Linked DNA regions of Homo sapiens: regions 2, 3, 4, 5, 6 and 7 are each linked to region 1. Evidence: promoter capture Hi-C in 16 types of primary human blood cells and fetal thymus (Javierre and others, 2016). All regions are on one chromosome and are shown on one strand. Each heading gives the region's core, a stretch centred on a gene start or on the middle of the fragment in contact. The rest is flanking DNA. Distances are from core to core; before and after follow the strand shown. Region 1 holds the start of NDN (necdin, MAGE family member). Region 2 has its middle 22 kb from the start of LINC02250. Region 3 overlaps LINC02250 (long intergenic non-protein coding RNA 2250). Region 4 overlaps LINC02250 (long intergenic non-protein coding RNA 2250). Region 5 overlaps LINC02250 (long intergenic non-protein coding RNA 2250). Region 6 overlaps LINC02250 (long intergenic non-protein coding RNA 2250). Region 7 holds the start of SNORD109B (small nucleolar RNA, C/D box 109B).

Region 1 (4,358 bases), core at 1,316-3,815:
CCTCTTCATTCTTCAGGAAGAAGATGATATCATTTTAGCAGGTGTACAGTTGGGCTCCAGGTCTAGCCTGTGCTTCATTTCAGACTTGTGCATCAGACCTAAGGCTTTAAGCCTTCCAAGTGTAATCTCTCAGGGTGGTCTTAATCGACAGGCCCTGGTACAGCATTGGACAACCCTTCTGTCAGAAGTGTAGTGTGTTGTGTGCTGCAGGAGAGGCCTTCTGCACAGTCTGCTTGATGCTGGCAACTTCACTAGAATGAAGTCCAGGTAGAAGTTATCCAGTCCTGCCCAGGCAGCAACTGAAGTCCAAGCAGCTCTCTGGCCAGAGCGCTGATACTCACTTCAGCAGAGCCACCTTTTATTGTTGTCATGCCCCAAGCCTGCACTTTAATTTCAAGAATCCATTACATCTCGGAGGGTGACATGTGAGAATGCAGTTTTAATGAGATCACAATGTTAAAAACCATAGCCTATGGCCAAAGCCAAGTTGAGATTTAAATAGTAGGTTCAAACACTTTTCTTATTAAAAAATATATCAAATGAACTAAATATTTTATTTCTTTATTTATTTAATGTTTGAGACAGTCTCGCTCTGTTGCCCAGGCTGGAGTGCAGTGGCATGCTCTCAGCTGACTGCAAACTCCACCTCCCAGGTTCAAGCGAGTCTCCTGCCTCAGCCTGCCAAGCAGTTGGGATTAAGGGTGCCCACCACCACACCCGGCTAATTTTTGTATTTTTAGTAGAGACGGGGTTTTGCCACGTTGGCCAGGCTGGTCTCGACCTCCTGACCTCAGGTGATCTGCCCGCCTCACCTTCCCAAAGTGCTGGGATTACAGGCGTGAGCCACCGCACCTGGCCTAAATATTTTATTTAAATAGTTAGAAAATAATACATACCCAAACAAAATAAAGAATAATATTGATGGAGATTTAAATGCAATAAATGAGGATTATATTTATGAAGCATGGGGGTAATAAGTCTGTTCAAGAGACATTCTTAAAAACAATGAATATAATTAGCATATTTCTGTAAGATGTTCCCAAGAAAATGGTAGATATCTATAAATAGAAGAAGGAGAAAAAGGAGAAGTAGATGGAGAGGAGAAGGAGGAGGTGGAGGAGGGTGAGGAGGAGGAGAAAAGTGTTGAAATAATTCCAACTAAGACTGATATCTAGGAATTACCCTGGTGAAGTGGGAAGCTTAAGAGTCCTGTTGGAGGGACTGGTGTGGTAATGGCTCTGCCAAAAGTGTTATGTGCGTGCAAACCCAAAGAGAGAAAGCACAGAAAACCTTTCAACATCAACCTGCTTGAGGAAAAATAAAGTGGGAAAAGATACATACTCACAGTGAGGACTCTAGACATGTCAAGACAATTTTTAAATATGCTTTTGGCTTCGAGTGGCAATAACTAGATTCAAGACAGCATATTTAAGAAGCTGCTGATGAGAAGAAACCCGGGAAGAGCTGAAGGACCACATCAGCCCAGACCAAGGATGCTGAAGCAGCATTAAGGTCCCTGGTTTCAGATGCTCAGGCAATGACCCTTTTTTTCATGGAGAGCCTGTAGGAGTGACAGTTTTGTCTTTGCCCACTGGGAATCTGTTTTCCATACCTGGAAAACAGGGTTACCTATGTTTCCCCTGCTACCCTTTGGTCATCTCAGAGACACTACCAGATATTACCCATGGGACCTATTTTTTTTTTAAATCTCAGGAAAGACTTGGGTGTGGCTTCCAACGTGGAGGACTCAGTAGCTTCAGAGAGGGTCCTGAGAGAAGGTGAATTGAAGAATGAGGGTGCTGGGCAGAGGGAAAAGACATTATCATACAAGTTTGTGCTAAAAGATATAGCAATCCTTCTGCTATGGACTAAGTATGGAAAAAAATAAAATGGAATCAAAGTTACCCAAAGGAAGTGTAAAACCCAAATTTATGCCCGTTAAAGCATTAATGATGCTCTAAGTCCACTGCCTACTTAAAAAGTTCATAGTTCACATGGGTTGATAGGAAATTACGTTAACGACACACTGCATTTCCCCTTTTCTTATAGCCTATCTGATTTGGTAGGGAGTCGATCATTTTTTATTGGAATTTCTCAGGATTCCAACCTCAGACATCCACTTTACAGTTTACACATTTTCTTGGACAAGCCCGACTGTTCCTCTCACTGGTTCGCATAAAGCTCATGTTTACAAAGCCGCCCAGACCTTTCTCTGGGACTCTCATATTTAACTTAATTCTGGATATACCCAGGTAAGCGTTTCCCAAGAAACTTGACCCCAACATCCCAAAAACTTAAGGTATCTTTCCCTTAAACTGGCCCCTTCTCCAGTACGCATCCATCTCACTTCTCTCCTGCCCTAGATCTTCTCAGCCCAAACAGGAAACCCCGGGATCGCTCTCCCAGCAGGTGAAGCCTCGCCATGGACCCTCCCCGTCGGGGCCCCGCGCTGCCCCGCCCGCCCCCAGCCGCTGGCCAAGGCCGCGGTCGCGCAGGCGCAGTGCCGCGTCCCGCCGCCGCCCCGCCCTGCCCGTCGCTGCGGAAGGCGCCGCGCGCAGCAACGCGCACTTCCTCTCCAGGAATCCGCGGAGGGAGCGCAGGCTCGAAGAGCTCCTGGACGCAGAGGCCCTGCCCTTGCCAGACGGCGCAGACATGTCAGAACAAAGTAAGGATCTGAGCGACCCTAACTTTGCAGCCGAGGCCCCCAACTCCGAGGTGCACAGCAGCCCTGGGGTTTCGGAGGGGGTTCCTCCGTCCGCGACCCTGGCAGAGCCGCAGAGCCCTCCTCTAGGCCCGACGGCCGCTCCGCAGGCCGCGCCGCCTCCCCAGGCCCCGAACGACGAGGGCGACCCGAAGGCCCTGCAGCAGGCTGCGGAGGAGGGCCGCGCCCACCAGGCCCCGAGCGCGGCCCAGCCGGGCCCGGCACCGCCAGCCCCGGCGCAGCTGGTGCAGAAGGCGCACGAGCTCATGTGGTACGTGCTGGTCAAGGACCAGAAGAAGATGATCATCTGGTTTCCAGACATGGTGAAAGATGTCATCGGCAGCTACAAGAAGTGGTGCAGGAGCATCCTCCGGCGCACCAGCCTCATCCTCGCCCGGGTGTTCGGGCTGCACCTGAGGCTAACCAGCCTGCACACCATGGAGTTTGCGCTGGTCAAAGCGCTGGAGCCCGAGGAGCTGGACAGGGTGGCGCTGAGCAACCGCATGCCCATGACAGGCCTCCTGCTCATGATCCTGAGCCTCATCTACGTGAAGGGCCGCGGCGCCAGAGAGAGCGCCGTCTGGAACGTGCTGCGCATCCTGGGGCTGCGGCCCTGGAAGAAGCACTCCACCTTCGGGGACGTGCGGAAGCTCATCACTGAGGAGTTCGTCCAAATGAATTACCTGAAGTACCAGCGCGTCCCATACGTGGAGCCGCCCGAATACGAGTTCTTTTGGGGCTCCCGGGCCAGCCGCGAAATCACCAAGATGCAAATCATGGAGTTCCTGGCCAGGGTCTTTAAGAAAGACCCCCAGGCCTGGCCCTCCCGATACAGAGAAGCTCTGGAGGAGGCCAGAGCTCTGCGGGAGGCTAATCCCACTGCCCACTACCCTCGCAGCAGTGTCTCTGAGGACTAGCAAAGTCTGGAGGCAGATGAATGGTTTCTGACCCTCACCAGGGCTGTGGAAGGGTGGGGGTGGGTCATTATAGTATTCAGGATTTACAGTGCAGTATTCACGTGTAACTTTTAAGTTTTCAGTACAGTGCTTTTATACCTTTAATGCAATGTTGTATTCATTTGGGTACTATTGTGTAGTATTTAGGATGTATGCATGTTTGTTTATATGTAAGCTTGGTTGGTGCTTTCGCTTTTGTGCTACCTTTCTTGGATTTTTGTACCAGAGATGTGCTAAACTGATGAAATACATTGAGAAAGTTTCCATCTTATTCTTTTATATGGGACTGATGATGTGTGTTGGGGTAGACTGCTCCTGCAGAGTTTGGAAGAAGTCACCAGCAAAGCCGGCCTAACCAAGAAAAGTCAAGGCCCTTCATGACCTTGCTGGGCACAGAAAACACCCTCGTGGAGTACACTAATTTGAACTGGACTGGTCTCAGTGTGAGCACTTGGCACACTTTACTAAACACATATACAACCCCACCGTGAGTCAACTTTAAAGTAAACATTAAAGATTCTTGTGATACAATCATTTTTGGAAAAGTGTACTTTATCATTTTAACAAAGCAGTATGGTTGGGAATGAGACAATTCTCTATTTTACAGTGTATACAGATACAACTATTTCCCCTAATAGGGTGGGAAAAATCGCTACTCATGATTACTCCTAAATTTGTGAAGTTTATAGTTCTATTGTCTT
Region 2 (4,358 bases), core at 723-3,222, 1.9 Mb before region 1:
GAAAACAACTTTATAACAGAACATATATATGTTATAAATAATATATGTTTAACATATATATAATACTTAGGAGTAAACCTAGCCAAGAAAATGAAAGAATTTACTGAAAATTGTCAACATTGATGAAAGAAATTCATCAGAAGATTGAAATAAGTGGAAAGACATCTCATTTTCATGGATAGAATAATTAATATTGTTAAAACTTTCATACTGCTGAGGCAATCTACAGATTCAATGTAATCCCTACCAAAAGTCTAAAGGTATTTTTACAGAAATGAAAAAAAAAACCCTAAAATTCATATGGAACTAGAAAAGATCTCAAATAGCCAAAGCAATGTTGAAGAATGAAGTGGGAGAAATCACACTTCCTGATTTCAAATTACGTTACAAACTCCAGTAAACAAAACAGTTTGATACTGGCATAAAAATAGGCATATGGATCAATAGAAAAGAATAAAAAGCCCAGAAATAAACCCAGGTATACATAGCTAATGGATTCTTGATGAGGATGCCAAGAATACACAATGGGGACAGGTCAGTCTCTTAAATAAATGGTGTTGGGAAAACTGAATATCCACGTGCAAAATAATGAAATTGTATGCTTTCTTATATGAAACACAAAAATTAACTCAAAATAGATTAATGATTTGAATGTAATAGCTGAAACCATACAACTTCTAGAAGAAAACATGAGGGAAAAGCTTAAGTGGGACAGCAAAGGAAACTATCAACAGCGTAAAAAGCCAACTTATAGGATGGAAGAAAATATTTGCAAACCATATATCTGATAACGGGTTAATTTCCAAAATACATAAAGAGATTCTAAACTCAATAGCAAAAACAAAAACAAAACAGAAGCAAACAAAAAACCTGGTTAAAAAATGAACAAAGGATTGGAATAGACATCTCTCCAAAGAACACCTACAAATGATGGACAACAGGTATACAAAAAGATACTCAGCTTTACCCATCGGCAGGGAAATGCACATCAAAACCACAATCAGATATTATCTTGCACCTATTAGGATGGCTACTATAAAAATATTTATAAATATTAGTGAGGTTTGTATACTGCTGATAGTAATGTAAAATGGTATAGCCATCATGAAAAACAGTATGAAAATTTTTCAAAAAATTAACAATTAAACTACCATATGATCCAGAAATCTCACCTCTGGGTATACATCCATAACAATTGAAGTCAGGATCTTGAAGGGATAGCTGCACTCCCATGTTCACTGCAGGTTTATTCACAATAGCCAACATATGGAAACAACTCAAATGTCCGTTGAAAAATTAACAGATAAAGAAAAATTGGTATATCCATGTAATAGAATATTATCCAGCCTTAAAAAAAAGAAGGAAAGCCTACAGTCTGTGACAACATGAATAAACCTGGAAGACATTATGCTAAGTGAAAGAAGTCAGTCACCTAATTATGTGCAGTTTCTTTTATGCCAATTATACCTCAATAAAGCTAAAAAAAAATGGGGAGGGGGGAGAGAGGACACATGGTTGGTATTACACATGAGAAAGATTGCTTTGAATGTGGTGGGCTGAATAGATTGGGGAGGAGGGGTGCAGGAGATGAGATTATAGGCCAGGATAGAAAGCTGGAGAGAGCAGAAATAGGGTGGGAACCTTGAAAGGATGGCTAGGTCAGACAAGTAGGAGTAGGAAAGGGAGCAGGGCAGAAAGAATGCACACCAGATTGCTTGAAGGTGCAACAGGTTTCTTAAAGAATCAAGATCACGCTTTAATTTAAAAACTTTTTTTATCCATTCTTATTGACAAGTGGCACTTGCCCAGATATATTTTTTTCAGGGTAGAAGTTTGTGATAAATTGAAGTAAAATTAACACAAAAGCTTAACTTATATAAAAGGACCCCAACAGCAGTCACAAGACTGTGTTACTGTAGGTCCTGTGCAGGATTGCAGAGACGTAGCCTAACCTCTACACTAAGGTCTTGCCATGTAGACCAGTCTGGTCTCGAACTCCAGCATTCCTGCCTTGCTTGGCCTCCCAAAGCACTGGGATTATAGGCAAGGCATGAGCCACTGCAACCAGCCAAAGCTTTTTTTTTTTTTTTTTTTTTTTTTTTCACAGACAGGGTCTCACTCTGTTGCCCAGGCTGGAATGCAGTGGCACAGTCATAGCTCACTGCAGCCTTGATCTCCTGGGCTCAAGCTGTCTTTCCACCTCAGTATCTCAAGTAACTGGGACTACAATTGCATATCACCACACCTGACTATTTTTTTTAAAAAAACAGTATTTGTAGAGATAGGGATCTCACTATGTTGCCCAGGCTGGTCTTGAACTCCTGGCCTCAAGCTGTCCACCTGCTTCTGCCTCCCAAAGTGCTGGGATTACAGGGATTACAGATGTGAGTCACCATGTGGGCCTTCCTCCCTTGTTTCTGGCAATGGTGGGTGCTGAGTCTTCTGTAGATTTTAATGACATGACTCAGAGTCTCCTTCCACCCAGTCTCAAAGGACAAGTTGAGTAAGGTGAGTAGCACCCCACATTTCCACGCTCCAAATTGTCTTTTCCATGCTGAGGTTCAGTTCTAAGTGTTGGAACTCTCTTATGAGCCTCCCTTCTCTTGCTCAAGTTAAATTTCTTTTCCTGGCGTTCCTTTGTATATCAGCAAAAAAATTCTTCAAGAGGCCAGAGAACAAACCTGGACTTGTCTACCTAGCAAGAAGTTTGTAGCTTAGACTGACTACCCAAAAGTAACTTGAATGTTAATTTTCTGCCCAATATTTTAGTATAAAAAATTGAAACATAAAGAAGAGCTGAAAAATTACTGCAGTGAACATTCACATACCCACAGTAGTATTCAATATTCCACATTTTGTCGTATTTACTTCTGTATCTGTCTAATCTATCTGTGTGTTTTTTGTTTTGTTTTGTTTTGAGATGAAGTCTTACTCAGTCACCCAGGCTGGAGTGCAGTGGCACGATCTCAGCTTACTGCAACCTCTACCTCCCAAGTTCAAGTGATTCTCCTGCCTCGGCCTCCTGAGTAGCTGGGATTACAGGTGTGTGCCACCACACCCAGCTAATTTTTGTATTTTTAGTAGAGGTGGGGTTTCACCATGTTGGCCAGGCTGGCCTTGAACTCCTGACCTCAAGAGATCTGCCCACTTTGGCCTCCCAAAGTGCTGGGATTACAGGCATGAGCCACTGCCCCTGGCCAACTATCCATGTGTTTTTTGAATCATTAGAAAGTGAGTTGCAGTTGTTACGACACTTCACTGCTTCAGCATGCGTTTTCTAGGAAAAAGAACAGTCTCCTCTGTGACCACAGTAGCATAATCACAATTTTAAAAATTAACCTCAATTTCCTAATATCATCTCATATCCAGTATATACCAACATTTTCCCAGTTGTCTCAGAAATGATTTTATAGCTCAAATTTTTAAAAACATAGAAAGAACCAAGATTCACAGATTGCATTTGGCTGTTTCATGTTCTTAGCCCCTTTTGATTATGACGTTAGAAGAGGCCAGGACAATGTCTCACGAAATGCCCACATTCTGGATTTGTATGGCAGTGTCATCGGTGGCGTCATTTTATTTGGTGCTCTCTTCCCTGTGTTTTCTATAAACCAGAAGTCAGACAAAAAGATTCAGTTAGGTTTAGTGTAAACATTTTCATCAAGTGTACTTTAACTTGACTATTGAAAATATTTCCCAAGCTTTAAAAGCATACCAAATCGGACTTGATAGTTCTAGAAATACCATGAAGTCATGTTGTAACTGTATTGAAGGGCTTTCCTTCATCTTTGTCTGGGTGCCAATACTGTGAGATTACTTTACTAAGCCATCCATGAATATCAGCAGTTAACAATGTTGCTTATAGGCCCCAAAGATGCTTTGAGTCAGAATAACCCAGGAGCTTCAGTCCAGCACTTTGGTTCGAGTTCCTTTAGCAATAAACCCTAAACTGAAAACTTTTTCAGAAACTTCTCTTTCTTTCTACGTTGATGCCTTCTAAGGTTACTTAAAGAAAGGGAATCAAAGTCCATACACAATGTACCCTTTATTTTGGTGTTGCAATAAGTACTCTAGGCATATAAAAACTAATTTCCTGGTTGGGCTCAATAGCTCACACCTGCAATCCCAGCATTCTGGGAGGCCAAGGCAGGAGGATAATTTGAGCCCAGGAATTCAAAACCAGTCTGGGCAACATAGCAAGACCCCATCTCTACAAAAAAAAAAAAAACCAAAAAAACAAAAATGAAAACAAACAGACAAAACACAACTAATTTTCTGTAAACTATAAAAAACCAATAGGGTCAAGAGAGTTTCAGCAGTGGCCTCTTAGGCTGGTTTATGACAGTGGAAAAAATTCT
Region 3 (4,358 bases), core at 878-3,377, 1.9 Mb before region 1:
TGCTTAGCTTCAGAAAAAAACACCAATGAGGAGACGTGGGTTTTGCCACATATTTCAGATTAATTCACACAAGAAAATCTAAGGTGGCTATGGTCATATTATAGGTATTAATATCAATATTGGGTACCATGAGTCTATATGTGCAGCCAAGTTTTCTTTCACTTTAGCGATTTAAAATTGTAATATTTTAGATATTATTAACATTTCCTCCTATTTTCCAAAACAATTTTATATTGAAAAATATAATAATGTAAAAGTGTAAGTTCTCCATAAATTTAAGACAGAGTAGGGACAGGGCTTGGCTTCAACTCACGCCCACTAGAACATTCTTTCATGCACTCACACTGATCACAAAACCCACACCACCACTTCACTACTAATAGTCGTTTTACTTAAAGAATTCCAGGAACTGGCCTTAGGAGATCCAAAATATGGAAGCAAGGTTGTGGAGTGTCCCAGTACAGGAAGGAATGTTGAACAATTGATTTATAACCTTGTTGCCACCAGCCAGACCATCAGGTGGCCCGTTACTCAAGATAACCATCACAACCAGATATGCTGACCTGTGTACCCTACCCCTCACATACTGTGCCCAACCCAGCCTACATATCTATCCCTGATGTCAATTCCCATCCTTTGCCAAAAAAAAAAAAAAAAAGCCCTACTGGCTCTTTTCAGAGAGTCAGCCAGATAGCGCTCTCTCTCTCTCTCTCTCTCTCTCTCTCTCTCTCTCTCTCTCTCTGGTGCTGCCTCCCTTATGCACCAGCATAAGCTCCAGTGAAGCCTTGTCTGGGAAAACTCTCTGATCTCATGTCAATTTCTATTGCATTGGGAGACCAAGAAGGTGGGTAACAACTGATCTATGCAATCTCAATAAAAATCCCAATGAGTTTTTTAAAGGACATTATTAATACAATTCTGAAATTTAAGTGGAAATGCAAAGAACTAAGAATACTTAAGATACGCTTTAAGAAGAATAATGAGGGGAGAGTTTCCTCTTCCACCTATCATGATTTATTATAAAACTGTAATAGTTCAGTTGATGGCATGATATTGTTCCCAAGGATAAACAAATAGACTCATGACAAATGGAACAGATAGCCTAGAAACAGGCCAGTGCATATATTAACCCTTGATTTTTGAAAAGGTGGTACATCAAACAATGGGGAAGAAAACGATATTATTTTATATAAATAGTGTTGGGTCAATTGTATTATTTACCCTTTTGAAAACAGAATTAAAGTTGACCTTCTCACATAAAAAAATCAAGCTTAGGTAGATTGTAGACCTAAATATAAAAGGCAAAACAACATATTTTCAAGGAGGTAATAAAGGAAAATATTTTCACAGTCTTGAGTGTAGAGAAAGATTTCTTAAATAGGACACAAAAAGGGCTAATCATAAATAAAAAGATAAATCATTCAAATCACATTCAAATTAAGAATGTCCATTCCTTAAAAGGCACCATTAAGAGAGTGAGAAGGCAAGCCACAGAGAGAGAGAAGATATTTGCAATTCATGTAATCAACAAAATACTCAGATCTAGAATATCAAAAGCATCCCTAACGAATCCATAAGAAAAGATAGACGACTCTATTGAAAAATGAGCAAGTGATCCAGAGATTTCTCAAAAAATGTACTGTCCTAAATGGGCAATAAATTTATGAAAAGTTTCTCAATCTTGTTAGTAGTAATTGGGAAATGCAAATTAAACTACAACGAGAAAGACGGCCAATCACAAGTGTTTGGTGAGGATGTGGAGCGCACTGTTGCTGGAGCACAAGTTACTGCCACTTTGTTTTTTGTGTTTTGGGGGCGATGGAGTCTCACTCTGTCATCTAGGCTGGAGTGCAGTGGCGTGATCTTAGCTCACTGCAACCTCTGTCTCCTGGGTTCAAGCGATTCTCCTGCCTCAGCCTCCCAAGTAGCTGGGATTACAGGTGCGCATCACCAACATGCCCGGCTATTTTTGTATTTTTAGCAGAGACGGAGTTTCACCATGTTGGCCAGACTGGTCTCAAACTCTTGACCTCAAATGATCTGCCACTCCAGCCTGCCAAAGTGCTGGGATTACAGGCATGCACCACCATGCCCAGCTAATGTTTCACCATGTTGGTCAGCTAGTCTCAAACTCCTGACCTCAAGTGATCTGCCCGCCTCGGCCTCCCAAAATGCTGGGATTACAGGTGTGAGCCACTGCACCTGGCCAGTTACTCTCACTTTGGAAACTGTCTGGCTACATTACTGGAGTTGGAAATAAGTATCACTATGCCTAGGGTGACCATATTTTGAGAGTGAATGTAGGCTTTTACCAGATAGGACAACAGGCATAAATTGGGATTGTTCCAAGCAAACTAGGATGTGTGCTCACATCAATTGTGGTATATTCTCTTACCCAGCAATGCCACTTCTAGGAACGCCAAGACACAGGCCCAAGCAGACACAGAGCAGCATCTTATGTAAGAGCCCCAAACTGGGAACAATCCAAATGCCCATCCACTTAGAGTGTATACATAAATTGTGGTGTATTCATACAGTAAAACATTAGACAATTAGGAATACATCAGCTAGAGATACATGAAACAATATGCTGACTCTCACACAGTATCGAGAAAAAAGTGAGATACAAAAAAAGTGCATGTTGTATAATTTCAGGCAACATAACATAAATCATAGTGCGATAAGTCAGGATAGTGTCACGGTAGCAGACAGTCTAATGCCTTCCCTAAAAGATGTCCACACACCAATCCCCAAAATCTATGAACATGTTACTTTTGAGGAAAGAGCTTTTATCTGAGTAATGCAAGTCCTTTTAATTATCAGGCTCAGAGAGACCTTAAAATGAGGCAGCAATTGTGTCTTGCTTCCCCCCATGAGCTTCCCCCCATGTTCATCTCATGAAACTGCTTGCTATTGCCACAAGTAGCCATAAATTAACCCAATAATGCCACACCAGACACTATAACACACATCCTAAAGCTTAACAATGGATAGCCAATCACTAATCAATGTTATTCCTGTAAACCAATGAGAATTCCTAACAAACAACTTTGTATCAGCCCACTTCCTGCCCCACTTTTTTGCATTAAAAAATCCACTAGTAACTGTGGCTGTTCTGAGTGTATATTCAGGGCTACTTGAATCCAGGCCCTCAAGCTTGGCCCCAAGTGGACTTTCCACGTAATTTTGCATCAGCTTCTTCCTTTCAGGCCAGCACCTTATATGGCAAAAGGGACTTTGCAGATGTGATTAAGGTTGAAAACTGTGAAATGGAGAGATTATCCTGGACTATCCCAAGGGCCTAGTGTAATCTCAAGAATCCTTAGAAGAGAAATAGGGAGGCAGGAGAGTCAGAACCAGAGATGTGACAACTGAAGTCATGTCAGAGTGATGCCTTGTGAGAAAGACTTGACTGACCATCGCTGGCTCTAAAGACAGAGATGGGGCCATGACCCAAGGAATGTGTGTGGAGTGTGGAAGCTGGAAAAGCTTATTCCCTAGGGCCCCAAGAAGGAACACAGCCCTGCCCGCACCTTGATTGTAGACCCATGGATACTATTTCAGCCTCCTGACTCCAGAACTATGAGATAAATTAGTGTGTTAAGCTACTAAATTCATGCTAATTTGTTACAGCAGGGTCGGGGAGGAAAATAACTTAGCTCTAAATAGTTCTTAGCTGGGATCCATTGTAACAAAAGATAGACTAACCAGAGAAAAACAAACGACTATACAGCCACGTGTCATGCAACAATAAGGTTACATGCTGAGAAATGCATCATTAGGTGATTTCCTCCTTGCATGAACATCATAGAGTGGACTTACGCAAGTCTAGATGGTACAGCCTACTTCACCCTAGGCAATATGGTATTGTCTGAAATCTAGTTATGCAGCACTGACTGTATCAACATAAATACATCAAATATACATGGGAGATACCTAGGGAAAAATGAGTAAATCTCAAAGAGATGTCTTAGTATTTGGTCTTAAATACCATCTTAAGCTAAAAACAGAGAAAGAAGGGTGTGGGGAAGGCCAGTCATGGCCAAGTGCCTAGGAAAAGCAGGGTACCCAAGAGTCAGGTTTGCTATGCAGATTTCAGCGGCTGCCTCTTCATTGATAAGAGTCTGGTGATTTAGAGTCCTCTTTCTCTTCCTGGTACAGAAAAGGAGACATCCAAGCAAATGGAGATTTTCTCTACAAATGTAAATTTCCCCTTACAAAAGGGTCACTTCGACTTTTATTTTCAGAGTTTCTCCTGTGTCTGCAGTTTCACAAAATAACCAGGTCAAAATAATCCTTATGCTAAAGAGACATATTTTGGGATGGCATATTCTCGTCTTCTACAGGAGCAATGAGAA
Region 4 (4,358 bases), core at 1,332-3,831, 1.8 Mb before region 1:
CTTTACATTTTTCATTGCTGTCTAATTTTGGCAATAAGCATGTCACTTTTTAATTAATTTCAGATTTTGAGATAATTATAAACTCACATGAAACTTGTTCAGAAATAATACAGAGAGATCCTGTGTACCATTTCCCCAATTTCCCCCAATGGTAGTAGCATTTTGCAAAGCTACACTACAACCACTTCATACCCATTAGGATGCCAATTATCAAAACAAACAAAGACAGATGTTGGTGAGGATGTGGAGATATTGGGACATTTCGGCACTGCTAGTGAGAATAAAAAATAGTGCTGCTGCTACGAAGAAAAGCATGACAGTTCCTCAAAACTACAGTGCAGTATCACGACCAGAATACTGGCATCAATACAGCGAAGATACAGAACATTTCTATCACCACAAGGTTCTATCATGGTGACCTTTACCTGCAACCAACACTTTCCTCTCACCTATACCTCTCCTTAACTCCTGGCAAACATTCATGTCATCTCAATTTCTGTAATTTTTCAAGAATATTATACATATATAACATTATATGATATGTATCCTTTTGGGATTGGCCTTTCTTGGTCCACATACTTTTCTGGAGATTCAGCTAAGCTTTTCAGCATAGCAATAGTTTATTCTTTCTTACTGCAGAAGTAGCATTACATGGCAGGGGTGTACCAGTTTGTTGAACCATTCACCTGTTGAAGGACATCTGAGCTGTTTTCAGTTTGTTTGACTACTACAAATAAAGCTGCTGTAAACATTGGGGCACAGGTTTTTATATAGAACATGTTTTCATTTCACCTGGTTAAATGCTCAGGAGTGTAACAGCTGAGTGTCATGGTAGCTACAGGTTTGGTTTTTGAAGAAACTGCCCAAATGTTTTCTTTAGAGGCTGTGCTATTTCACATCACCACCAGCAAAACGTAAGCGATCTGGTCGCTGCATCCCGGCATCCTCACCAGCATGCGGCACTTTCCTTCTTTCTAACAGCCCTTCTGTTAAGTGTGTGGCAATATTTCACTGTGGTTTTAGTTTGCATTTTCCTAATGGCTAATGATGTTGAACACCTTTCATAGGCTATTTGCCATTTGAATATACTCCCTGATGAAATGTTTGTCTCTTTCCCATTTTCATATTCGATTCTTGTTGTTTTCTGTTGAGTTCAGAGTTCTTTCTATATTTTAGATAGGAGTACTTTGTCAGATGTGTGGTTTGAAAATGTTTTTTTCAAGTCTGTAGCTTGTATTTCCATTTTCTTCACAAAGTGTTTCGTAGAAAAGAAAACATTTTCAAACTTAATAAAGCCCAGTTTACAAACTTTTTAAAAAATAGATCTTGCTTTTGGTGTCTAGTCTAAGAACTCTTGCCTAGCCTTAGATCACAAACATTTTCCCCTATTTTAAAAAATGTTGTATAGATTTATGTCTATGCTCCATTTTGAATTTGTTTTTAGATAATGTACAAGACTTAGGCTAAGGTTCATTTTTGCCTATGAATGTTAAATTTAGCCTTTATAATTGTTTTATAATTGTCTTGTCCAGAGTCAATTCAAGGCAGTCTGAAAAATTAAAAACAATGCTATAGGCAAAAAGTCAAGAATTTGGAGCAAATAGACTGAGATCATATAAAAATGCACAGAGGGGGCCGGGCGTGGTGGCTCACGCCTGTAATCCCAGCACTTTGGGAGGCCGAGGCGGGTGGATCACCTGAGGTCGGGAGTTTGAGACCAGGCTAACCAACATGGAGAAACTCCATCTCTACTAAAAATACAAAATTAGCCGGGTGTGGTGGCACATGCCTGTAATCCCAGCTACTCAGGAGGCTGAGGCAGGAGAATCGCTTGAACCCGGGAGGCGGAAGTTGTGGTGAGCAGATATCGTGCCATTGCACTCCAGCCTGGGCAACAAAAGCGAAACTCCATCTCAGAAACAAACAAACAAACAAAAATGCATAGACGGTAGACCTGTAGAATTACTAGAGATAGTTCTGAGTTTCCCACAAACTCAGTGCAAAAACAGAAATTTGATCTGTTATATGAATCACTCCTTGTCTCCAACATAATGACAAAATTGTTAATAAGAAGTAGTACAAACATCCTTGGTCTTGAGGATTAAGAAAATGAGAAAAGTCCTCATGAAAAGGACTCTGTACAACATCTTCATCAACGTGCTGTAACTAGGGTAACCCTATGATCTAAAAATCAGCCAAAACTGACTATCTTTGAGGGTGAACAAGGCACTATCAATAAAAATGCTGAGACAAAGGCATAAACTCAAACTATCCGCAGGAAGCTGGGGCTGGATTCACTTTTTAACAGTAACGCCAACATAGGGCTGTTACACATCCTGAACCTCAAAGTAGGCCTCCTTCAAAACCTAAATGCAGCTGGGCATGAGCGTTCAGTGGCAGGGGAATGCTGTATGCACTGTATGCCATTCTCATGCTGGAAATCGATTTCAGAATAGAAAATTAGAGAATATTTTTCTTTTGTCCATGATATTCCTACCTCTGACTTAAAGTTCAGCCACCACCTTATAAAACACATACTTGGGACAAAGTTATTGTCTGTGCTGAATGACCCTTTGTCCATTAGCAGGTATCGTTGGTGAAGCCCATTAATTACAATCCCTGAGAGTCAACTCATCCATTTGGGGTATGACATGAATCCTTACAAGTCAAAGTGATGTGTTCACAATTTCTTATCCAATAACTCGCTATGTCTTACAATGTATAAGGTCTTAATACATTAAATGTGAAGGGTGGACTCAAACAATGTTGGGGAATTTCAAAGAAAAAATACCAAGAGTGACACATTTGAGCTAGTTTCTGAACGCCAGGTCCTCATTCAGAAGGTTGGCAGGCAGCAACATCACCTAACCATCCACTCTATTTTAATTATTTCAAGAGATTGCACAGAGTTCTTGATATTGAAGAGTGAACCATGTTCAAGGAAGAAGAGATCACCCCATAAAACCCTTCCAGCTTGTGTTACAATCAGATGCCTCTAAGATGGACAAAAAAGGCACACAGAGATATTCCCTACTCAGGCTCTGGTCAAATCTCTCTCCACTTAATGGAGCATGGCTTTCAACTGCACCTGGAGGTGAGGAAGGGTAGGGGGCAGAGGGGAAATGGATAAATGCGGTTGAAGGGAGAAAGGAATTACACTAATGGGGCTTCTAGAGTGTTAGGCCCTAGGCCATGTAAAAGAGAAGTTATTCTGACACTTTTTAAAACAGAAAGGAAGACTTCATTTAAGTCTATTGTCAATGGGAGAGAGCTTGAACTCATCGACTGCATACAACAGGGACAGGTGGGGATAATCAGCAGAGGGAAGGAACAAATGGAAAATTCACACCAGGAACTTGATTAGGCATCAAGGGTACAGGGACTCTTGTTAAACAGACAACAGGGTTTCTTGTCAGCACTGGGCTAGGCAAACCAAAGACAGGACCAAGGATAAGGTAAAATAAAAAAAAAAAAAAACGGGGTTGGGGGGACGGCACTAAGGAGCCTCACTAAAGTTTGGTCAAGGTTAAGGTCCTTGCTCACCTTAAGCAAGTACTCAAACAATTCAAAAGTACTACTGAGACGGTATTTTTCCCATTGACTGGCATGTCGTGGATGGCTCTCCACCCTCCTGCATGACCTCACAGGCAGAACGTGCAACCTGTAGCAAGCCAGTGACTCCCATCACCCTCCCCATTCACAGGCAAACTGCCCTATCCAGGCCATCCTAAGGCACAACTCCCTCGCCGTGCTGAGTGCCATCTCCCAGGCCCTGCTCCTGAAGTTTCCCCGTGTCACAGTGCACACATGTGCTGTCCCAGGCCAGCAGGGCATCACAGCTCCCTTATGTCACCCCAAGGCAGCTTCTGGCCAGGTCTCCCTGCTTCTTCAGCAGATTCACCCCACTGAGGGTTTTTTTGTTGTTGTTTTTTGAGTTTTTTGTTTTTTAGAAAGTCTTTCTCTGCGGAGAGAGGCAAAACTAAGAAATGTCTATTTAAGTCCTCTGCCCATATTTTAACCAGATGATTTGTTTTCTTGCTATTGAGTCTTAGGAGTTCCTTAGATATTTTGGAAATTAACTGCTTGTCAGGTATATGGTTTGCAAATATTTTCTCCTATTCTGTAGGTTGCCTTTACACTCTTGTTTCCCTTGCCATGCAGAAGATTTTCAGTTTGATGTACCTAATTACAAGGAGCCATGTCTTGATCCTGTGTCTCCTAGGTTGGGTCTCCCACATGTGTTTCACTCTTTGGCTTCCTTTCTCCATTGCTAACAAACAAGAGGCTAGGCCAGTTACTCGTCCTTCCAGGGTCCCAGGCATGGAGGGAGAGCAACGATACTGTGAGGATGACGGAGG
Region 5 (4,358 bases), core at 824-3,323, 1.8 Mb before region 1:
TGTGAAGCTACGTGAAGCTGCCCCTGCTCTTGCCAATTTTCTCAGGGTTTTCCAGCTCAAATGAATCTTTCTGCACCGAATCTTTATACTCTTATCACCTGTGCCAAATAATTAGTAGCTCACCATTATCCTGGTCCCCAGTCAACTGTAGCAATATGTAATATCATCATATTCACTACTAGCTGCATGGTGACATTCTATTTCCCAAGTGGACTGTGTTAGTCTGTTTGTGTTACTATAGAGGAATGCTTAATGGCTGGGTAATTTATAAAGAGAAGAGGTTTAACTGGCTCACAGTTCTGTAGGTTGTGCAGGAAGAGTGATGCCAGCATCTGATTCTGGTGAGGACCTCAGGAAGCTTCTATTTGTGGCAGAAGGGAAAAGGGAGCAGTCGCATCACATGGCAAGAGTGGGAGCAAGAGAGAGAGAAGGGGTAGGTCTCCCCAGACTCTTTTAAACAACCAGATCGTGCATGAACTAACTGAGCAAGAACTCACTTATCACCAGGAGGATGGTATTAAACCATTCATGAGGGATTTGCCGCCATGATCCAATCACTTCCCACCTGGCCCCACCTACTACACTGGGAATCACATTTCAACATGAGATTGGAAAAAACATCCAAATGATATCACAGATGATCGCATCTTTGTGGGCAAGGGGCTGTAAAGAGTGCTGACTCATTTTCCACCCCACAGCCTCTAGGCACCGCTGGCACATATTAGATGCTCAACAGATACCTGTTGACTAAATAATTGATGGGAGGGTGGTATGGCTATATAGTTGTTAGCCTCTTACTACCATAATCTCCAGGCTGTAAAGGCTGTGAGTGGTAGACTGAAAGCATGCCAGGTAATCTCTATAGAGGGCATACTAAAGAAACTAAGAGGACATCGCACAAGTGGGTGTGTTCATCCTGTGTGTGTGTGTGTATTTCGTTTTCGTTTACGGTTTTTCATATGAATAAGCTTTATTTTTGGAACAGTTTTAGGTTCACAGTAAAGTGAAGCAGAAAGTACAGACAGTTCCTATATACCCTCTGACCCCACACATGCACAGACTCCCCCACTACCAACATTCCCCACCAGGATGGTACATTTGTTACTACTGTTGAAATGGTATTGACACATCATCACTCAAAATCCACAGTTTACATTAAGATTCACTCTTGGTGTTGTATATGGGTTTTGATAGGTGTATAATGACAAGTTTCTACTGTTATAATATCAGATAGAATAGTTTCATTGCCCTAAAAATCCTCTGTGCTCTATTCATCTCTCTCTCCCCCAAATCCCTAGTATTAACTGATCTTTTTGCTATCTCCATAGTTTATCCTTTTCCAGAATGTCACATACTTGGAATCATATAATATAAAGGCTTTCAAATTGGCTTCTTTCACTTAGCAATATGCGTTTAAGTTTCCTGCATATCTTTTCATAGCTTGATAGCTCATTTATTTTTAGAGCTAAATAACGTTCCACTGTATGAATGTCCCACAGTTCATTTATCCATTCACCTATTGAAGGGCATCTTGGTTGCTTCCAAGTGTTGGCAATTATGAATGAAGCTGCAGGTTTTTGTGTGGACATAAGTTTGCAGCTCCTTTGGATAAACATCAAAGAGCACAACTGCTGGATATTATGGTAAGGGTATGTTTAGTTTTTAAAGGAATGCCCAAACTGTCTTCCAAAGTGGCTGTACTATTTTGCATTGTCACCAATAATGAATGAGAGTCCCTGTTGTTCCACATCCTCACTAGCATTTGATGTTGTCAGAGCTGTGGAATTTGGCCGTTCTAATAGGTATGTAGTGATATCTCATTGTTTTTTAATCTGCATTTCCCTGATGGCATCTTGTGGAGCATCTTTTCATATGCTTAACTGACATCTGTGTATCTTCTTCGGTCAAGTATCTGTTAAGGTCTTTGGCCCATTGTTTAATCGAGTAGTTTGTTTTCTTATTGTTGAGTTTTAAGTGTCCTTTGTATATTTTTGGTAACAGTTCTTTATCATATGTGTCTTTTGCAAATATTTTCTTCCAGTCTGTAGCTTATCTTCTTATTTTCTTGAAATTATCTTCTGCAGAACAGAAGTTTTTAATTTTAATGAAGTCCGGCTTATTAATTATTTCTGTCATGAACTGTGTCTCTGGTGTTGTACCTAAAAAGTCATCACCATACCCAAGGTCATCTAGGTTTTTCTCCTGTATTATGTTCTAAGCACTTTATAATTTGTGTTCCACAGGTAGTCTGTGACCCATTTTGAGTTAATTTTTGTTAAGGGTTTAAGGTCTGAATCTGGATGGATTTGTTTGCATGGGGATATCCAATGGTTCCAGTACCACATGTTGAAAAGACTATCTCTGCTCCATTGTATTGCCTTTGCTCCTCTGTCAAAAATCAGTTGTCTGAATTTATTTGGGCTTATTTCTGGTTCCATGTTCTGTTTCATTGATCTATTTGTCTATTCTTTTATCAATACCACACTGTCTTGCTTACTGTAGTTTTATAGTAAGTCTTGAAGTCAGGTAGACTGTCAGCCCTCTCACTTTGTTCTTCCCTCTCAATACCAATATGGCTAAATCTGGGTCTCTTGCCTCTCCATATAAACTTTAGAATCAGTTTGTTGATCTCCACAAAATAACTCCCTGAGATTTTGATTGGGATTTCAATGAATCTATGGATCAAGTTGGGAAGGACTGACATTTTGACAATATGGAGTCTTCCTGTCTATGAATATGGACTATCTCAATTTATTTAGTTCTTCTTTGATACCTTTCATCAGTTTTGAGTTTTGTAGCTTTCCTTATAGAGATCTTGTACATATTTTGTTAGATTTATATCTAAGTATTTCATTTCTGGCATGGTAATGTTAGTGGTAATGTGTTCTTAATTTCAGATTCCATCTGTTCATTGCTGGTACAGGAAAGCAATTAAGTTTTTCTGTGTTGTATCCTGCAACCTTGTTATAATTGCTTATTAGTTCCAAGAGTTCTTCAGTGGACTCTTTTGGATTATCTAGTAGACATCTGCAAATAAAGACAATTTTACTTTTTCCTTCCTAATTGTATACCTTTTATTTCCTTTTCTTGCCTGATTTCATTACCTAGGACTTCTAGTATAACACTGAAAAGGAATGATGAGGGGGACATCTGATTCCTGATTTTGCGAGGAAGCTTTGAGTTTCTCACCATTACGTATAATATTCATTGTAGGTTTTTAGATAGATGTGCTTTTCTTTATCAGGGTGAGCAAGTTTCCCCCATTCATAGTCTGGTGAGAGTTTTTATCATGAATGGGTATTGGATTTTGTCCAATACTTTTCCTGCGCCTATTTATATGATCACATAATTTTTTTCTTCTTTAGCCTGTTGATGCGATAGATTATATGAATGGATTTTTGAATGTTGAACCAGCTTTGCATAACTGGGATAAATCCTAGTTGGTAATGATGTATACTTATTTTTACACATTGTTAATTTGATTTGCTAAAATTTTGTTAAGGATTTTTGCATTTATGTTTATGACAGGTATTTGTTGTAGTTTTTTCCTGGAATATCTTTGTCTGGTTTTGGAATTAGGGTAATGCTGGCTTCGTAGAATGAATTGCAAAGTCTTCCCTCTGGTATAATTTCTTATTTAAAAATTTGGTAGGACTCACCAGCAAACCCACTGGGCCTGATGCTTTGTTTTGGATGGTTATTAATTATCGATTCAATTTCTTTAATAGATATAGGCCTATTACAATTGTCTGTTTCTTCTTAAAAGAGATTTGGCAGATTGTGTCTTTCAAGGAAATGGTTCATTTCATCTAGGTTATCAAATTTGTGGGCACACAGTCGTTCATAATATTCCTTTGTTATTCTTTTAATGTTCATGGGATTTGTAGTGATGTTCTCTCTTTCATTTCTGATACTGGTAATTTTTTTTTCTTAGCCTAGCTACAGAGGCTTATCAATTTTATCGATCTTTTCAAAGAACCAGCTTATAATTTTGTCGATTTTCTCTACTGATTTTCTTTCCAATTTTATTGATTTCTACTGTAATTTTGTTATTTCTTATCTTCTGCTTTCTTTGGATTTAATTTGCTCCTCTTTTGCTAGTTTCCTAAAGTGGACTGTGAACTTCATAGGAGCTTCTCAGTTGCCCCCCATCCCTTAGATAGGACAGGATGGTTACAGGTAACTGGTGTTAGGTATTTCCCTTCCCCTGGGTAGGTTAGGTTCTGATAAAACCCCAGCATTTAGGCTCTGATAAAATAGTTCCTCCTCAGGGTAGGCCTTGTAATAAGAAGAATGCTCTGGCACGTTTCAAAGTGGTTGCTTTTCTCCTCCCTGTGAGAGAAGCATAAGGGAATTTT
Region 6 (4,358 bases), core at 1,173-3,672, 1.8 Mb before region 1:
TAATTTGGCCCTCAGAGTGACTGCACAGTGCTCAACTTTGTTCATCTTTTCTTGACTTTCCTGTGTATTGTCTAACGGGATGGTCCCTTCAAGCCCACAGGGACATTTCTGCCCCCTCCATTTTTATCAAATTACCATCCTCTCAGTTTTGTAAAATAGTCAAGAACAGCCAAGGAAAGCTCTCTCCACTTTCTCTTCTTTCCATCTTATCTCATGCCTTCTTATCTTCCCCTTTCTCCTCTCTTGCCACTTTCCTTTGCAGTCCAACCTGCACTTGGTGGGTCATCCGCTGTCGCCCAGCATTATCAGCCTCTCCCTTTCTCCCACATTTCCCTTTCCATCTACCACCCTATCCCCCATTCCCCATACAGATCCTGTATGGCCTCTGCCTCCCCACCCCCTGACTCCCTAGCCCTTGGTGGACAATTTTCACCTCCATTGCTCTACTGAGCAACTCACCCCAGCATCTCTCAGCACCAGGTCAGTCAAAGCCATTTTCTGGCTTAGCTGCCTTTCCTTTTACCGCACTTGTCACTGTGCCCATCTGCTTCGAGGAACTCTCTCTGGCCTTGTTTCTTGGGCACTTGCCTGGCTTGCAAACTTTACTGATGATTTCAGCTCTATTTCCTCTATGATTTTATTTCTTCCTGCAGACTAATTCATGAGATCTCTGGAAGCTTCTAATCTCACTAATTTCTCCTTTTCTGTTTGAATGTTCTTAGCAAACTCATCCACTCACAGGACTTCAGGGACCACTTTGGGCCTGGCTCCTGAGTCCCCATCTCAGACTCTGGCCCCTGCTTCTGCTCTGGTCTTTTATTTGGGGGTGTTGCCAGTCATCATCATGTGGAAATCCAAGTCCTTAGTGCCCATGTCTGAACTCACCATCTTTCACCCAAACCTGCTCTTCTCTGTGAATCCCGTTTACATGCCCATTATCAAACCCGAGAGCTTCAGCACACCCTTCCCTGTGTGTCCTCAGAGTCTACCCTAGGTCTTCATCAGTCCCACCCTGGCATCTGGGACAAGGCCTGATACAGATTAGTAGATGCTCAGTACATTTATGAACAGCCTCTTTGTCCTTCCCCTCCTCATTTGACCAGCTACTAAGTCCTAGCACTAAGAGCTATTCACTACCAATAATTCACATGAACTGTATGAAGGACCCAGATAAGTTGGCAGTGATAATGGAAATTGCAAGGAGTAGCAAAGACGTACTCAAGAGCTGACCTGTGTGAACCTGAAGCCCCTGTTTCTGCTCAGCATCACAGGGGCTTGATGTGTGTAAAGCACATCCCAGGAAGCACATAGGAAACCAACTGTATTATAGTGATTTTTCTTATTTATTTTGTATCCATCTCTACTAAACTAATGCTGGACAAGGGACTCTCATGGGTTTTCTAGCCTTGCCATTTAGCAATAGTGGTCATTTACTTTCTTTCTTTGCCATAATTATATTTCTTATTTATATTTCATTTCTATTACATTCTAAGACATTCTTAAATAATAAAACAACCAAATGTCCAGACTCTCATTCAGAGTGTCTCATGTGCTGAGAAAGCTTCTTGAAGGGACTAGGAACTTGTTGCAGTTTCCATTGTGGGGTTGTGCATGTTTTTTAGACACCTGCGCAGGCACCAGCTTTAGTGGGGAAAAAAAAAAAAAAAAAGGCTTTGTAAGGGCTGTATTCAAAATGCCAGTTAACGCCCATCACCATTTAACAGCAGTTAGGAACACTAACAGTGTACCCTGCATACATTATTACCCAGTTAGATATTTTTATTGCTAGCAGATTCATGTCCCTAAAGAAGGAAAGGAAATGAGGCTTAGATGGGAACACGACAGGCACTGTGCTCAGGAACCAGGCTGTGTGTACAGGGATGCTGAGAGGCAAAGCTCCTGAAACCTTCTTTCCTAAGGGGGATCTGAATACCTCAATGCTACACAGGAAGTGGAGGATGTAGTTCTCTCTGTATTTCATTCACTCTGCAAAGACAAAAAAAAAAACAAAAAGTCTCTAGCAATTTATTGAAATTATCCTGTAATCACAAGGTTAACATCAGCAGTACCATTTTTCTGTACAAAGGAAGAAACTAGGCTTTTAGTTTTATTTTCAGTGAAATCATTAAAACACAACATTCCCCAAGGCCTTTCTACCAGTGGGATCAGCCACAGTGATGTGAAGTGCCGGGTGTCTGGCTTTGTTTGTCAGAGAACTGAGAACACTCAGGGCAAATATTAAGTCACAGATTTTCTGCAGAGTCATCGCTTGCCATGGTCTCTCACCCAGGCAGCTCTGCATTCAGGTGGAGAAGGTGGAAATTAGGGAGTCATTAGTTGGCCTCCATCAAAACAGCATCATTGGTTCACTATGTCTCCAAGTAAAGCATCTACCATGTTTCAGGAACTGGGTTTGGTACAGTGATGAACTACACGAGTAAGGCCACTAGCCTTTCAAAACTCAGAATCTAGTGAGGGGAAGTATCAATAAATTTGTTAAAACATATATAAATTAGGAAATGCACTCTGAAGGAAAATAACAGGAGCTATAAGAGAGAGAATGATAGCTGCTTTAAATCACATTCACAGGCAAGGCCTCTTTCTGATATGGATGCTGTCACACCAAGAACATGACATAGTCCCTTGTGAGGAGGAAGCCTGCGGTGGGGGGCATAAGCTCCAGACAGCTGCAGTGCAAAGGCCTGAGGCAGAAAAGGGCTCTGCACATCAGGAAGCTATACGGAAGCCGGGACCCTAAGGCAGCAGACAGCAAGGAACAGGACAGGGCTGCACGTGACCAGGGGGCAGGAACGGGGCTCTGCAGGCTTTGTTGGAGGGTCTGGATTGGAGCTGACTGGTGAGTTTTGTTTGTTTGGAGGATAATAAGAGTAAATGTGGAGTACTGGGGACAAACACTGGACTGCAGAGAACTGAGGAGAAAGGTGGGGAAACAGGCAACAAGCATGGGGTTTGTTTCTTCGGGAGAAGTCAACTATAAAGGAATGCAGAGAAGAGGTGTTGAGAGAGGATTCTGTTTTCAGTGGGGAAGTGAGCATACTTACAGAGTAGGGAATGACTCAATAAAAATAAATGAATATGGAGAGGATGGTTACTCTCCATGGAGCAGGGAGTATTTCTCAAGGAAGGCCCACCAAATCCTATGGGAAGTTCTCCTGGGGGGGCTAAAGACAAAAATCCCTGGGCAACACCCAGCATCAGAACACAAAGGGGGAAAGGCCCAGAAATTCTCATTTTTCACAACGTCCTTAGTGTAAAAGCTTGGTGCCACCATGGTAGTCTGAGTAGGCCAGCTTCCAACAGGGGAAGGACACTCAATCCTTTGAGACTGGAAGACAATGAGGGCAGATGTAGTACAAGAAATGGCAGATCTGTCAGTGTAGGTGAGAGCAGAGAAAAGCTCACCCCAGAGGGCAAAGAGCCCACTCTCCCAGGCCTGCAGGAACACCAAAAAACACCCCTCTGCTTCTTAGCACTTTCTAACAGTTATGCTGAACGCCAGACAAACCTGATTCTCCTGGGCCCTTCTAAGTGTGTTAATTTGAGTGATGGCTGACCATCCTCTCAAGTGGGTTACAGTAGCCCTTCCCCCTAGGTCAGCGGCACCTGAAATGGATGCCAGAAAGACTGGAACAGAAGAAAACTGAAACTTGGCAGGTGCATGGACTCAGGATTTCTCTCTTCCTCTGTCTGGGCCCTGCTTGGGATACACACAACAGACTCTTGGCTACAGACTGATTCAGATTTAACCAACTGGTGAAGAGCCTATTGATATGGGCTTAGGATTGGTTACGATTTTCTTAGGACTTGGACAGGCTTGAGTGAAAATTAATGTTCTTAGTTTCAGAAGCTGAAAGGAGCTATGGAAAGTGAGAATTAATAGTTTCCCATTATTTTTTAAACACTTCCTCCTAGTTTTTGCATATCATTAATGATTTTCTGTTGAATAACAAAATATGGAAAAATTAACATCTGACTTTCGTGCTGTCGTGATACATTGTATTTATTATTTCAATTTTTCAGAAACATTTTATAAAGAACCAAAACCAAAATAATTTTATCATAACCCTTTTTCTTGATGAGCTTATGATAAAGCACTCCTTTTCCTAGTTTTTCTTCCCAACACTAAAAATTAGCATTTAAAAATAGTCAGAGAAGGCCGGGCACAGTGACTCACGCCTATAATCCCAGCATTTTGGGAGGCCGAGGCGGGTGGATCACCTGAGATCAGGAGTTCCAGACTAGCCCAGCCAACATGGTGAAACCCTGTCTCTACTAAAAATGCAAAAATTAGCTGGGCCTGCTGGTGGGCACCTGTAATCCCAGCTACTCGGAAGGCT
Region 7 (4,358 bases), core at 1,356-3,855, 1.6 Mb before region 1:
ACACACACACACACACACACACACACACACACACACACACACACAGACACACACAACCTGGGCTCTCATCTAAATAAGCCATACAACGTTTATAGGGTGGTTGGTTCAAAATAAAAGCATGTATTTCAGTACGTATTGGACCTTTCAATGAGATAATAATGTCCATGTTTTATAGCCCTTTCAGCACACTTCTATAAAGCTATATAAACATTATACAAGATAAAATTCTTTGTGTTCTGTATAACTGATTGACTACTTCAACCTGATACCTTCTCTTATGCTTTTACGTATCTCTTATTTGTTCATTCTCAAGAATACATTGCCAGCACTAAGGACAAAGATATGGCTTTTAAAAATACCAAATATGAATCTGTTCAAATTATCTGGAAGGAAACACACATAATACCAAAATTTTAAAAATTCCTGTTACAATGTTAAAATTGAGAAGAGTATTTTAGGGAATTGTCCTGATAAATTTCTCTAACTTTATAGTGTGGATGGTATCCTGGTCAATTTCTTCATGTTAACAGGACTTTATCAATCTAATCAATTTTGTCCTTTTACTGTCATCTTTGCATTGCCTATCACAAGTTATTAATTTATTAAGTATTAATTTATAAATATATACATAATTTTTTTTTTTGAGACGGAGTCTCGCACTGTCTCCCAGGCTGGAGGGCAGTGGCGCGATCTCGGCTCACTGCAAGCTCCGCCTACCAGGTTCACGCCATTCTCCTGCCTCAGCCTCCCGAGTAGCTGGGACTACAGGCGCCCGCCACCACGCCCGGCTAATTTTTTGTATTTTTAGTAGAGATGGGGTTTCACCGTGTTAGCCAGGATGGTCTCGATCTCCTGACCTCGTGATCCACCCGCCTCGGCCTCCCAAAGTGTTGGGATTACAGGTGTGAGCCACTGCGCCTGGCCTCATAATTATTATAAATAAAACTGAAACCTGTATAGTTTACCCAGGCAATGGCTCTTTCAAAACTTCTGAATTTTAGTCTTCAAATTTCTTTTGCAATTAGGAATATTTAAGTGATTGGAAATAAAAGACTATCCTGGTATGACTGTCAGTGATAAATGCTATAGTTATGGCATATGTTTTGTAAAAGGGCTGCCAATTTTCACTGTACTAACTATAACCTATTTTAACCTATTTTAATAATATTAAACATATTTATCACTTAAGAATCTATATTAAATAATAAAATATATTTTATGTTTAAATAATAAAATATATTTTATGTTGTATAAATATATACATAAATATATATCTGTTGTATAAATATAGATGTTGTATAAATTATATCTATGTTGTGTGTATATATACAATGTAGATAACTTTACCTTGACATTCTAATACATTACTGAAATAATGGTAACCTGAATATTTCATGATTTGACTATAACTCATTAAAGAAATCACATGGACCTAATTTTCAAGCATTACTCATTCTGGGAATGCTCTACAGAAACAGAGGCATGAGTGCATAAAAACTGGCATATTCCGATTATAAATGTATGGTATCTTGCAGTAGCAAAATGTTGATAACCATTATTCTGAAAACAAGAAATGGCTAAGGAAAATGTGGTGTCCTTCACATTCACTGAGGACACTGGCACATCTATAGTTTTTGACATAGAGACCTCAAGACCTATAGGACCTCAGGAGATTGTACAACATATATTACTACCAAAATGTCAAATCTAAAGCTCATTTACAGTAAAGTTAATTGGTTATGATCAATACATCTTATATAGAAAGATAAATGGATTGATAGATACTTGTATTAGCATAGAAAGTTTTTCCCTAATATAGGGCAGATGATTAAACATATTTCCTCTGGAAAGCATGGGGAAAAGGTTAAAAATACATCTGTCATAAATAATTTTATATTCTTCTATATTGTTAAGCTTTCTTAAAATGAAGTGATTACTCTTGGCAGTAATTTATGGCTGAAACTCTTTGATCTCAGACTAAAAAAGGGAAAATCAGGGAAGCAGGATTAAAAGTTGAAACACATTTTAGCTTTAGTATGTCGAGAACTCAAAAGGTGAAAAGCACTTAAATTTATCAGTTGTGTATTGACTAAGTAATCTCCAAGGAAATCCTTAAGCAAGGAGTTCACTGTTCTGACTTTTGGCTTTATACTTTACCCAACTTCATCAATATTTCCCCAAATTCTAAACTGTACAATGCATGTGGGCCTCTATTAAGATCTATGAGAAACTTCTTTGCATGTGGTGTAGAAATAATCACACTAAATCTTAACAACTATATTTGCTTGTATATTCAATTATGTAGCACATAGAATAGAAAAGCATGAAGGTATCACATTAATTCCCTCTCTGCAAAACAAGAGACATGTGCCAGTTCAAGTGATCTGTCAAAGAAAGTATAAAGAATTGAGTACCAAAATACATGAATATGTGGGGACAATACTGCAATCCTTAAGACTTGAGATTGTTCAGCATGTTTTTATAACAGAGAAAAAAGTATAAGAGAATTTAAGAATATACATAGAAAAAATATAAATGTGTTAAAATAAAAATACTTGAGTAACTACTCATGACATGATTTGCTAAAAAGCCCTGTGCTAAAGAGAGAACCCACTTGATCTATTATGAGGGCATCAATCAACAAGCACCATGTAATACACAATCTACTTGAGACTTTTTTTATGTATTAACCAATATTTTGACTAGTTCGATAAGTTTTTTTTACTTTCTATCGAAGAATAATATACATGTAGAAAAGTGCATACACTAAAATTGTAAAGCTCAATGTATTTGCATGATGCAATCACAGCAAGTACTCAACACACAGATCAAGAAATAAAAATTACATGCATTCTAGAAACCAGCCAGGTGTCTTATATCTATGATTATCTCAGACATGCCATCAAGAGAAGAAAATTTCCTATATAACTTACCTTGTTGCAACAATGAGGAAAAGACTAATTCAAGTCAATATTTAATAATTAAATTAGAAGCAGAAATATAATGTAGTATGACCACAAAGATATTATGAACCATGGAGTCTCTATTCTGAAACCCCAATAATTAAACAGATGGGGAAAATCTGTTAATATTTTGGCACACCTGGATTTCACTACAATACATTTTGATCCAATATGAAATTGCCAAAAATTCTCTTAAATTCTACATTTTTCCATAAAAGCAAAAGAGAGTTAAAATTAAAAGAGAAATGATAAGGATTCAATAGTGTAGGTGACATGGTGAGGGTCTCAATGAGGAAAAGGACATATCATGAAAATGTCCTCCAATAAGCTTCTGAAAAGATGTACAAAACGACCTAAAGACCTAGCAAAGAGCACATGACATATGAATTTCAAAAGATAATGGCTTAGCTACTCACCCCTGTTCTCTGAAGTGGAGGATCAGATTCCAGGCCTTCTATCTCAGCAAAACATGAAAGAAAAAAAAAGCAAAAATAATCTTAGAAAATACTCCACAGTAAAAATAACAAAGCAATAAACTTGGTTCCACTGTCATTATTTAATAGAGGCATGCCATATTTCCTTCTTTCAGCACAACACTAATGAGATTTTCAGACATATCACAGTTGCTTGACCCTTAATTCAATCTTCTAAAGTTTTTCATTTGTTACTTAAGAAATATTTCCTATATGTAAGTATCTATCTACAATTAAAGCAAGTCTTGGGTCACTAGGCACACTAAAGTGCACACTGACTCATAAGACAGGATGCCACTGCCCTCTTCGAAGAGATAGAAAAGGCACGCTCACAGGGGTACTATGTTGTCACTGAGGGATCCCCAAATAGAGCCAGGCTCTGAGAGTCTTATTTGTCCTATTGGAGGGCCGCACATCTGGACCTCAGATTGACATCTGGAATGAGTCCCTCAGCATCCTCAGACAATTATTCTCATCATCGATCCAAACAAGCACCCTCCCAACAAATAAGCGTTTCCACAGCCAGGCTTATTTTGTGCATGGTTATCTAATGCATCATCAGTGAGAACAGTAAATGTACAGTAGACATTTGTTTAGTATCTGAATAATGGAACTCTCATATACATAGCATGAAAAAACATATGACTGAATTGTTCTAATAAAATTAGATTAAAATCTGGCCGGGTGCAGTGGCTCAAGCCTGTAATCCTAGCACTCTGAGAGGCCAAGGCGGGTGGATCACGAGGTCAGGAGTTCAAGACCAGCCTGGCCAAGATGGTGAAACCCTGTCACTACTGAAAATACAAAAATTAGTCGGGCGTGGTGGCAGGCACCTGTAATCCCAGCTACTTGGCAGGCTGAGGCAGGAGAATTGCTTGAACCCAGGATGGGGAGGTTGCAGTGAGCCAAAATCACGCCACTG

What was found. Contacts are between HindIII fragments. The CHiCAGO score rates a contact against its expected background, and 5 or more counts as called.
Region 2: a contact is called between a fragment that was not itself captured here and the fragment with the promoter of NDN in region 1, in 2 of 17 cell types (M1 macrophages and M0 macrophages). The highest score is 7.5, in M1 macrophages.
Region 3: a contact is called between a fragment that was not itself captured here and the fragment with the promoter of NDN in region 1, in 1 of 17 cell types (total B cells). The highest score is 6.2, in total B cells.
Region 4: a fragment that was not itself captured here is called in contact with the fragment with the promoter of NDN in region 1 in 1 of 17 cell types (M0 macrophages); the score reaches 5.9 in M0 macrophages.
Region 5: a contact is called between a fragment that was not itself captured here and the fragment with the promoter of NDN in region 1, in 3 of 17 cell types (naive CD8 T cells, M0 macrophages and M1 macrophages). The highest score is 7.5, in naive CD8 T cells.
Region 6: a contact is called between a fragment that was not itself captured here and the fragment with the promoter of NDN in region 1, in 1 of 17 cell types (total B cells). The highest score is 9.4, in total B cells.
Region 7: a fragment that was not itself captured here is called in contact with the fragment with the promoter of NDN in region 1 in 1 of 17 cell types (M0 macrophages); the score reaches 6.2 in M0 macrophages.

The regions. Positions count from the first base shown.
Region 1 is chr15:23,685,512-23,689,869 of GRCh38, reverse strand. It overlaps NDN (necdin, MAGE family member), which reads left to right and starts at 2,565. Exons shown (of 1, transcript NM_002487.3): 1 at 2,565-4,358. The coding sequence starts at 2,653. The coding sequence ends at 3,618. The HindIII fragment of the contact is 2,633 bases long and covers 1,202-3,834 here.
Region 2 is chr15:25,599,000-25,603,357 of GRCh38, reverse strand. No RefSeq gene overlaps it. Among named protein-coding and RNA genes, the nearest start is that of LINC02250, 22 kb to the right of the region's middle. The HindIII fragment of the contact is 208 bases long and covers 1,869-2,076 here.
Region 3 is chr15:25,536,861-25,541,218 of GRCh38, reverse strand. The region is part of intron 1 of LINC02250 (long intergenic non-protein coding RNA 2250); the gene reads left to right. Among named protein-coding and RNA genes, the nearest start is that of LINC02250, 40 kb to the left of the region's middle. The HindIII fragment of the contact is 1,709 bases long and covers 1,273-2,981 here.
Region 4 is chr15:25,515,184-25,519,541 of GRCh38, reverse strand. It overlaps LINC02250 (long intergenic non-protein coding RNA 2250), which reads left to right. Exons shown (of 5, transcript NR_187215.1): 2 at 2,897-3,094. Among named protein-coding and RNA genes, the nearest start is that of LINC02250, 61 kb to the left of the region's middle. The HindIII fragment of the contact is 3,957 bases long and covers 603-4,358 here.
Region 5 is chr15:25,495,554-25,499,911 of GRCh38, reverse strand. The region is part of intron 4 of LINC02250 (long intergenic non-protein coding RNA 2250); the gene reads left to right. Among named protein-coding and RNA genes, the nearest start is that of UBE3A, 59 kb to the right of the region's middle. The HindIII fragment of the contact is 2,206 bases long and covers 971-3,176 here.
Region 6 is chr15:25,476,396-25,480,753 of GRCh38, reverse strand. The region is part of intron 4 of LINC02250 (long intergenic non-protein coding RNA 2250); the gene reads left to right. Among named protein-coding and RNA genes, the nearest start is that of UBE3A, 40 kb to the right of the region's middle. The HindIII fragment of the contact is 1,717 bases long and covers 1,564-3,280 here.
Region 7 is chr15:25,277,906-25,282,263 of GRCh38, reverse strand. SNHG14 (small nucleolar RNA host gene 14) reads right to left here. Exons shown (of 148, transcript NR_146177.1): 146 at 3,380-3,417. It overlaps SNORD109B (small nucleolar RNA, C/D box 109B), which reads right to left and starts at 3,921; the gene lies at 3,855-3,921. The HindIII fragment of the contact is 1,377 bases long and covers 1,917-3,293 here.